3 separate regions of the Homo sapiens genome follow, and all the other regions are linked to region 1. Evidence: promoter capture Hi-C in human tissues and cell types (Jung and others, 2019). All regions are on one chromosome and are shown on one strand. Each heading gives the region's core, a stretch centred on a gene start or on the middle of the fragment in contact. The rest is flanking DNA. Distances are from core to core; before and after follow the strand shown.

Evidence for each region. Contacts are between HindIII fragments. The study calls those that stand out against the background at their distance.
Region 2: the fragment with the promoter of ZNF528 here is called in contact with the fragment with the promoter of ZNF331 in region 1 in 1 of the 25 tissues and cell types used here (dorsolateral prefrontal cortex).
Region 3: a contact is called between the fragment with the promoter of ZNF808 here and the fragment with the promoter of ZNF331 in region 1, in 2 of the 25 tissues and cell types used here (adrenal gland and liver).

Annotation. Positions count from the first base shown.
Region 1 is chr19:53,536,370-53,539,672 of GRCh38, forward strand. It overlaps ZNF331 (zinc finger protein 331), which reads left to right and starts at 1,776. Exons shown (of 6, transcript NM_001079906.2): 1 at 1,776-1,927; 2 at 2,847-2,913. RefSeq lists enhancers at 1,504-2,020, 1,806-1,855. The HindIII fragment of the contact is 21,395 bases long and covers 1-2,551 here.
Region 2 is chr19:52,396,355-52,399,657 of GRCh38, forward strand. ZNF528 (zinc finger protein 528) reads left to right here and starts at 1,495. Exons shown (of 7, transcript NM_032423.3): 1 at 1,495-1,550; 2 at 2,013-2,265. It overlaps ZNF528-AS1 (ZNF528 antisense RNA 1), which reads right to left and starts at 1,403. Exons shown (of 7, transcript NR_125345.1): 1 at 1,108-1,403; 2 at 841-913; 3 at 256-398; 4 at 11-145. It also overlaps a transcript of ZNF880 not described here. RefSeq lists an enhancer at 807-2,006. The HindIII fragment of the contact is 17,909 bases long and covers 1-3,303 here.
Region 3 is chr19:52,526,041-52,529,343 of GRCh38, forward strand. It overlaps ZNF808 (zinc finger protein 808), which reads left to right and starts at 1,628. Exons shown (of 5, transcript NM_001039886.4): 1 at 1,628-1,671. RefSeq lists enhancers at 247-1,073, 1,074-1,901. The HindIII fragment of the contact is 14,459 bases long and covers 1-3,303 here.

The DNA.
Region 1 (3,303 bases), core at 526-3,025:
CAGAGCTCAGATTAACACCCTCAAATCAGACCACAGAGCCTGTGTTAATTTCACCAAAACATGTCTGCTCAAATTATATGTACCATTTTAACCTACCCTTTTCCCTTGTTGATTCTTCAGAAGTTTTCTTAATTAATGAGTCAGTATTATTAGGAAATGTACTCTATGTCATTGTATAACAGACCATGGTTTAATCTGATTTTCCTTTATCCTCCACTGCAAGATTTTCATTTTTAAAAATTATTCTCGACTGGGTGTGGTGGCTCACGCCTGTAATTCCTGCACTTTGTGAGGCCGAGGCAGGCGGATCACCTGAGGTCGGGAGTTCGAGTCCAGCCTGACCAACATAGAGAAACCCCGTCTCTTCTAAAAATACAAAAAAAATTAGCCGGGCGTGGTAGCGCATGCCTGTCATCCCAGCTACTGGGGAGGCTGACGCAGGAGAACCCCTTGAACCCAGGAGGCGGAGGTTGCAGTGAGCCGAGATCGCACCATTGCACTTGAGCCTGGGCAACAAGAGCGAAACTCCGTCTCAAAACAAACAAACAAACAAACAAAAAATTATTCTCTGGAAATTCTGGGTAACGTCAGTGGATTACATCAATGTTAATCTTCTGGTTGTGGTATTATATACTACAATCACCAGCTGAGGTAACCAGGTGAAAGGTACACAAGATCTCTCAATTTTATTTCTTGTAACTACATATGAATCTAAAGTCTATCTAATTAAAAGAGAAAAAGATTTTCAGAAAAAAAGCATTTTGTGAACATACTTCAACATTGTGTACAACTATAGCTACTTCCTTGGCATAAATACCAAAAAGTGGGATTTTGAGTCAAAATGAGACTGTGGTTAAGTACCTGCAACATCCTGTAGACCCTGTGACGTTAGTACTTGGAATGAGAGCGGGACTCACGGGGCATAACTGCTACCTGTACATTGTTTACAATGCAGCAAGCAAGGGACACCGAATAGCAGCTCCGGCAGCCTGTGCTAGCGGCCTGCAGAGAATTCCAGGTGACGCTCCAGAGGGGCTAGGAGAGGATACCCTTCTGAGGACAGCCATGGCTCGCCCGGCATCACCCCACTCAAGAGGCCAGACGGGGTCCCAGCTGGGGTGACACAGCTCCTTTCCCAGTCGGGAAGGGGCGTCTGCAGGGACCAGGAAGGGCTTAGCTTGGGGCTGCCCGCTCCGGCACCGACCTGGGACGCGCCCTGAGGCCCCTGCCTGGGACCGTCCCGGACTACATTTCCCAGAGACCATCCAGGAGTACGCCGTGCTGCATGCTGGAACACGGGGCTTGGGGCTCTGGTTTCCCCCGACGGCCCCGCGTCCTCTTCTAGCCTCACCCTCTCCCGAGGCCCCAGCGTTGGGGGACTACCGGGTGCGTCTGCGGCTTTGGGAGAGTGGGAGGAGGGAAAGGGATGGGAGGGGTGCACGCACACGTGTCAGTGTGTCCGCGTGTCAGCATCTGTGCAGGCGCACGTGTGTGTCGGGCTCTGTTGTGTCTGCACATGCGTGTCGGCATCTGTGCGTGCGCACACGCCCGTCAGGGTCTGTGTGCCCGCACAGGCACGTCAACAGCTGAGCACGCTATGTATCGGGGGTCTGTGTACGCTCACATACGTGTCGGGGTCTGGGTACGTGCACATACGTGTAGGGGTCTGTGTGCACATGCGTGTCGGGCTCTGCTGCTGTCTGCGCGCTGCGGCCGCTGGGTGCGCGTGCGCATGCGCGCTGGCCTCCAGGGGGTGGCGGGACCGAGTGTGTGACGCACTTGCGTGGGAGTACGAGGCTGACGCGGCGGCCCTGTCCCCGTAACTGTGACACGGGTGCACGCGAGCGTCATTGGGGGCGATGGGGGCCGTGCTGGGTGCGCGTTTGCACCAGTGACGCAGCCGCTGCATCTCCGCCAGTCCGCGCAGGTGAGATTGGTGCGCGTGGCTCCGAGGGGAGACGGGCACGGGGCTTCTGACGGTGACGCACTTGCTGGAGAGTGTGGGGTGACACAGCCGGGCTCTCCCCATAACTGGTGACCGGGGGTGCTCCAGAGGCTTTGGGTCAACGCAGCCCGTGCCTGTGAACCTCGGCGGTGCGTCCCTGGGACTCTGCTCCGTGAGGTGCGCTCTGGGGGTTGTGCGGGGGCAGCGGTCGGGACGGGTCTCCGTGGCCCACGGATGCACCTCTGCACCGTGTGGGGTGGTGGGGCCCGTAGCATGGCCGTGCTGGGCGTTAGTGGGTATGAGGGGCGCAGATGTGTCTCAGGACAGAGTGAGCTGTGGTGAGGCTGAGCTGTGCAGACTTGTGCTGGGATGGGTGATCGGGCCTTCTGGGTGACGCAGGTGTGTGTGACAACACAACCTGTAGCTTCAGCGTCTCTGTGCTGGGATGGATGATCGGGCCTTCTGAGTGATGCAGGTGTGTGTGACAGTGCAACTTGTAGCTCCAGCGTCTCTGCTGCTTCCCCTGCCTTCACCTCCTAACCAAGCGGTACCTGCCTGAGAACAAGGGCCGCGGAGGGACGTGAGCGCCTGAGCCTCGCCTGGAAATTCACCAGCAAGAAGGCAGAAACAGCCATGAGGTGACGCTTTCAGAGCCAGAAGTGCTGTGCATGCAGGCCACCTGAGTGACAGGGGACGGTGGCCTCAGGAGTAGAATTCCTCCTGTAGAGGGACAGGTCCCTGATGTGGGAGACAGGGAGGGGGGCAGCTCCACGCGTCATCATCTCAATCGCCACAGCGTGCTCTTCAGGAATCTCCCAGAAACTCCATCTCGGGGCCTCGTATTTCTCATTGGTTTTATTAGGTATGGCAGGTGTTACCCTTCCGGTTCTGTTTTCCCCAGGCCAGCATCCTTCAGAAAAAGCATCCCCGAGGAGGAAGACGAATCGTTAAACATCTGAAAGGGTCAGGTGAGTATCCTTTTTTTTTTATATTAAATGATATGTGTTTATAAGACTTAAGACCAAACATTAAAGGTAGATGACCAAGATTTGAGTCCTGTTTCTGCCTCTTAGCTTTTTGAGCCTTCTGAAGATAGGCTTGTGAGGAGGGTGAAATGCATTAACACGCATAAAACCCATAGACGCGCACCCCTGAGTGGGAGTGCACAGTGAGTGCTGCTGTTTTGTGCTAAGTCTGGATGTCTGTACATCAGGAGCAACGTACATATGAAGGTAACTGGGATGGGTGTTTGCAGGTTCACAAAATGAACCACAGCCTCAAATGGCCTAGAACTGTTATCCTTAACCTGAGGGCCTGCCTTTAACTCCACTTACAACTTTCCAAGGGACATTCTGTGT
Region 2 (3,303 bases), core at 245-2,744, 1.1 Mb before region 1:
GAAGTAATACCTCGACTGGCAGAATCTCAGGGCAACATCATTGAGGTACAGCCAGTTGCATTTCACTAGGCTCAAGAGGATTGCTGCCTCAAGCAGGATAACCAGGCCTGCCTGGAGCAGTGCCGTAGTCCAGGATCCCAGTGACCTAGGTGAGAAGTTGGTACTCAGATCAAAGAAAAGTTCTTCAGGTGACCCCACTGTCTGCAGCCAATGGGCCTGCTTGTGGGCCTTATGTATTTGTGTTTCAAAAATAACCTGAGGGCTTGATGTGGGGGTCCTTATCTCCCATGCAAGGTGATTCATGCCTATAATCCGAGCACTTTGGTAGGAGCAGATGGGAAGACTGCTTGAGGCTAGAAGCTGGAGACCAGCCTGGGCAACAAAACCAGACTACATCTCTATTAAAAACAAAGCAACAAACAGTAGAAAATTAGCACAGTGGAGAGGCACAGGCCTTTACTCACAGCTACTCGGCAGGCTGAGACAGGGGGTCACCTGCCCAGGACCCCAGGAAGTCAAGGTTGCAGTGAGCTATGATTGCGCCACTGCATTTCAGCCTCGGTGGCAGAGACCCTGTCTTAAAATTTTAAAAAGTATTAAAAAACTAAGTTGGACCGGGCGTGGTGGCTACTCTGGAGGCTGGGGCAAGAGAATCACTTGAACCCAGGAGGCGGAGGTTACAGTGAGCTGAGTGCCTGCCACTGTACTCCCGCCTGGGGGACAGAGGGAGACGCTGTCTCAAAACAACAACAACAACAAAAAACTACGTCGTTTATGGCTATTTTTATAAGTTACTGGCTTTTTTTTTTTAAAGAATCGGTGACTTATCTTCACACTGGCCTTAGTCCTCCATGCCCAACACGATGTCCCTAGGAAAGTCTCTGGAATTGAGCACAGGGTTGACCTTCACCGTCTAGAGTGAATGGGGAAGATAAATGAAAAGTATTTATCTTCTATGGGCACTGGCATGAAATAGAACATTCTACCCTGGCAGGGTTTTGCATTTCACATTTTAGCTTGCATCATCCCCTTCACAGACAATTCCAAAGTGTGTTAATTCAATTCCTAAAGCTTCCCTTCCCTTCCTCCCTTCCCTTCCCTCCTTACTTTTCTTTCTTGTCCATTTATTTTCGGTTTTTTTCTCTTTCTTTCTTGGTTTTCTTTCTCTTTTTCAACTTCTCTTTCTTTTCTCTTTCTCTTTACTCTCTCTCTTCTCTCTCTTTCTGCTTCCAGGGTAGGTGGGACTTGAAATTCATTTTAATAGAAGGAATTTTCGTGGATATAATCTACAACCGATTTTGCTCTGCGCAGGTAAGATCCGTTTTCAGACCAAAACCCTGAAAACAAGCGCAGCCAGTCAAGCGAACGGAAGCGCAGGCCCGGCCCAGGCTTTGTCCCGGCCCGCCCTGGTCCCAGCCAGTCCGGCCTCTAGGATGCGCGCGCAATTTCGTGCAAACCCGGAAGCGGACCGCGGGGGGCGAACGCCTAGAGCGCAGTTTCCGGTAGACCCGGAAGCCGATTGCAGGGAGAAACTGTTTTCGCAGCAGTGCGTGAGTTTCCCTTTGTCTATGTTAAGTCTAGGCTAGCCAGTTCTTCTCTGCTTCTATACCCGGGAGCTGAGGGGCATGCAGACCTTGAAATCCCGGCACCGCTCCCTCCACCCCGAGTAAATTCAGACATCCTTTGAGAGTCTGGGAGTCGCTTTCTGCGTGTTAAAATCGCTTGGAGGCTGGTCGTGTGCCCGGTCTTTTTGTCATTTACCCACGTAGACACCTCCTATCGTGGGGTTTACCTGCTTCAAATCCTTTAGTAACCCCTACACACGCCCCGCACCACGTAAAATCCTCACTCTCCGTTCCCCTAGCCTCGCCCTTCTTTGCCCCTAGAGCTCAGCGCCCCAACAGGGCACGAGAGGCCTCGTCCTCTGCCCAGACCTGGTTTCTGCAGACTCCACCCCTCTCCTGACCCACTCCTGCCTTTTTGCTCCTTAATCTGGACCCTCTGTTCCCCAGGCCTCCCTTTTCCAGCCACCGGTTCTCCTGACCCCGAGTGTGGGGGGTGACTTCAGTCTCCTGACATCCAGTGTTCTCTCGAGCCAGTTTCCAGCCCACAGAAAATGAGCTCTTCCGGAAGTGGGCATCTTATTCCAATCCCCTCCCTGTGAATGTGTGGAGAAAAAGAGATGGGAACGAGGCAGAGGAAATAGAGAAATTTTGAAAGAGAAATGAAGAATGAGAGACCCATTAACAGAAGGCAAAGTAGAAGGTGAGTGAGGGGTTTGCAGAGGCACAGTGAAAGAAGGTGCCGAGAAAATAGCAGGGGAGAAAAGTAACTGTAAAAATATAGACAAACCTGGGTCTGTAGAAAGACGAAATTCAACAAGATAGGGAAGGCTTCTCAGACAGAGGGGGGAGAGGAGGAGGGATTTGGAGCCAGGTCAGACAGAGCAGCGTGGTGCTGGGACAGCCAGAGGGGGCAGCTGGTCACAAGGAGAACAGGGAGAACCACAGCAGGGGGAGGCCTGGGATCTAAGGGTGCCAGAGAGTGGGGACAGGGGTGTGTAATATCGAAGATGGAATTTAACAGGGAGACCCCAAGGGGAGCTGAGATGTGGGAGGAAAGAGGCAGAAATATATGGAGATTAGGGACAATGAAAGATTGGGCAGAAAGAGGAATAAGAGGTGAAACAAGTTGTAAAAATGGATCAGAACAGGTGGGAGAGAAGGAATAGAGGGAAGAATGGGACAAAGAGAAGAGGAGGGACTCAAAATGAACAGAATCCTAGGGGAAAATAGAGAAAAAAAGAGCTAGGAAAAAAGATGAGAATGAGAGATATGTACAGAATGAGGCAGGGAAACAGTAGTGAGGAAAGAGGGGGACCCTGGTTACAGATGAGTGGTGAGTTGATTGGAAATTATGATTGAATTGTGACATATTAATTTTTCTATAATATAAAATTTGTTTAGAACACATGAGGCTAGGAGCTGTGGCTCACACGTGTAATCCCAGTACTTTGGGAAGCTGAGGTGAGCGGATCACTTGAGGTCAGGAGTTGAGACCAGCCTGGCCAACATGTGAAACCCATCTCTAGTAAAAATACAAAAATTAGCTGGGCCTGATGGCCTGCGCCTGTAATCCCAGCTACTCTGGAGGCTGAGGCAGGAGAATCGCTTAATCCTGGGAGGCAGAGGTTGCAGTGAGCCGAGATCGTGTCACTGCACTCCAGGTTAGGTGACAGAGCAAGACTCCATCTCAAAAAACAAAAAACAAAAAACCACACATGAAGATGAGAATTGGAACACT
Region 3 (3,303 bases), core at 378-2,877, 1.0 Mb before region 1:
TGTTAGCCAGGATGACCTCGATCTCCTGACCTCGTGATCCGCCTGCTTCAGCCTCCCAAAGTGCTGGGATTACAAGCGTGAGCCCCCATGCCCGGTCCTAAGGTTTATTTATTAACAAAATGGTTTTTATTTCTTTCTCTGTTATCGTCGTGGAGATGATTTCTCATTTGGGATAATATTTTTTAGTTTTCAATTATATTTTGTCAACATTTAAAAAGCAAAGTAAAGAATATTTCTTGGGCCAGGCATGTTGGCTGACGCATGTAATCCCAGCATTTTGGGAGGCTGACACAGGCAAATAACTTAAAGTGAGGAGTTCGATACCGGCCAGGTCACCGTAGTGATACCCCGTCTCTATGAAAAATACAAAAATTAACCGGGCATCGTGGCACGCGCCTGTAATGCCAGCTGCTCCCGAGGCTGAGGCAGGAGAATCGCTTGAACCCAGGAGGCAGAGGCTGCATTGAGTTGAGATCTCGCCACTGCACTCCAGCCTGGGCAACAGAAATACTGTGTCTCAATAATAGTAATAATAATAATAATAATAATAAAGTAATAGATCTCTTCCACAAATGTGCTGGGACAACTAACTGGATATCCACATGGAAAAGAGTAATGTTGGATCCCTATGTCACACCATCAAAAATTTTATTTAAAAAAGTTTTTTTTTTTTTTTTAAAAAGGGAAAAGGCCCGGGCGCGGTGGCTCACGCCTGTAATCCCAGCACTTTGGGAGGCCGACGTGGGCGGATCACCTGAGGTCGGGAGTTCAGCCTGGCTAACATGGTGAAACCCTGTCTCTACTAAATATACAAAATTAACTGGGCATGGTGGCGCATGCCTGTAGTCCCAGCTACTCGGGAGGCTGAGGCCGGAGTATCGCTTGAAACCAGGAGGCGGAAGTTCTAGTGAGCTGGGATCACTCCACGGCACTCCAGCCTGGGCGACGGAGTGAGACTCTGTCTCCAAAAAAAAAAAAAGGGAAAGAGAGAGAGAGAGACTAGGAAGGGAGACCTGCCGCAGTGGGTGTTACTTTGTCGCCCAGGCTGGCTTGGGACCCCAGGCTCAGCAATTCTCTCCGTTGCTTCCTGAGTAGCTGGGACCTGAGGCTCCCGCCCCCGCGCCTCTGCTGTGTTTAAGCAGCAGGTGGTGACCTCACTCCTTCCTGGCCTAAGCACTCCGTCCCGCACCCCTGGCGGTGGCTTTAAGGAAGTCTCTGAAGCTGAGCTCAGGGTGGACTCTCCCTCCCTAGTGAATGGAGATAGAAAGGGAGAGGACATCTATTCTGTTCCGTGGGCCGTCACCATGACATCGTACATGCCGCCCAGGCAGGGCTTTGCATTTCACATTCTAGTTTGCATCCCGGTTCCAGACAATTCCAGGGCTTTGGAATCATGCCTCAGACTTTCTGGCGCTCTCGCCTCCACAACCTAAAAACAGAGACGCTAGGAGAGAGGCTGAAAGACGCGCAAGTCCCGCCCCGGCCCCGCCCCGGCCCCGCCCTCTGCCGGTTCTAAAGGGCAAGGTCTCAGCGCCTCGCGCCCCGCCGCTACCTCGCCCAGGCCCCGCCCACCTCCTCCCACCTCCCGCCCAGGCCTGGCTTCCGTCCTGCGCGCGGAGATTAACGCAAACCCGGAAGCGGATCGGGTGGAGTGAAGGTCACGTCGCCATGGTGAGTTTTGCTCTGTGTTGCATTAAGTCTCCGCTTCCCAGGTCCCCGCCGCTTCTGTCCCTGGGACGTGGGGTCCCCACAGACCTGGAAATTCTCGCCCGTCTTCCTTCGCCCAGAGCAAATTGAGACAGCCCAGTGAGAGGCCGGGTGTCGCTTCCTTTCGGGTTTAAAGTCGTCTGGAGGCTGGTCCCGTCCCGGGTCTGTCTGCTATAGGGCAATGTATACACTTTCTATTGCGTAGTTTTTCTGCTCAAAACCTTCTTCTGACTCTTCCCTCCTCGCGCTATTTAAAGTCTTCACCCACGAGGTGGATTCTTGCCCGGGGCGCACCTCCCAGCCACCCCTCGTCGGCCCCTGGAGCGTCGCGCCGCAGCCCCAGTCCCAGGGAGGCCGCGTCCTCTGCCTGGTCCTGGGATCTTGCAGACCCCATCCTTCTCCCAAGGCGCCGTCCCCCCTCCTCCCACCTCCCTACTCGTGCCAGAGCCTGCGGCTCCCCAGGTCTCTCCTCCGCAGTCACCGCTTCCATTGAACCCACACTGGGAAGGACGCAGGGCCCTGTCCTGTGACATGGGGTCTTCTTGCCTGCCGAGCTCCAGCCCTTGGAAAACGCGCTCCTCCGGGATGCAGGCGTCTTACTCCAAACCCTCCTGCGATTGTGTGGGCCGAAGGGATCAGGAGACAGACAGCAGTAGAAAACCTGAGACAGAGAAAGAATAAGAAAGGCCCATAACAGATGGCAAAATAGAGGATTGGTGAGGGATATGCCAAGATATGGTGAAAGTGGAAAAAGAAAGCAACAAAATACCTAGAAAAGCAGGTGGAGAAAAGCAACTGGAGAAATGTAGAGAAAAGCTAGATGTACACAGAGATGAAGGACGGCAAGGTAGGGAGAGTGGCAGCAAAGAGGGAGGCTCATCAGAGTGAGGGAGAGAGGGAGGGATTTGGAGCCAGGGCAGACAGAGCAGAGTGGTGCTGGTGTCAAGGAGAACCGAGGGAGAAACACAGCAGGGAGGACACCTGGGGATCTGGGGTGACACAGAGTGGGGACAGGGGAGTATATCAGGGAAGAGAGAATTTAACAGGGAGAGCAGAGGAGGCGCAGAGATGGGTGAAGAGGCAGAAATAGATGGAGATTGAGGACGATTGAAAGATTGGGGAGAAGGAGCAATAAGAGGTTAAATAAGTTGCGAGGATGGAGCAGAAGAGATGGAAGAGAAGGAATAGAGGGAAGAAGGGGGATAAACAGCAGAAGAGAAGAGGGGTACAAAATGAAGAGCAGAATCCCAGGGAGAAAGAAAAGAAAACAAGAGCTAGAGAGAGAAGGGGGAGAATGAGAGATATGTACAGAATTAGGGAGGGAAGCGCAGTAATGAAGAAAGGGGGGCTAGGCACAGTGGCTCACGCCTGTAGTCTCCACACTTTAGGAGACTGAAGCAAGAGAATTGCTTGAGTCTAGGAGTTCGAGACCAGCCTGGGCAACATAGTGAGACCCCTATCTCTGCCAAAAAAAAAAAAAAGGAAATAACGGGGCATAATCGTGTGCACCTGTACTCCCAGCTGCTCTGGAGGTGGAGGTAGGAGGATGACTTGAGCTCAGGAGGTCCAGGCTGCAGTGAACTGAGATCATGCCAC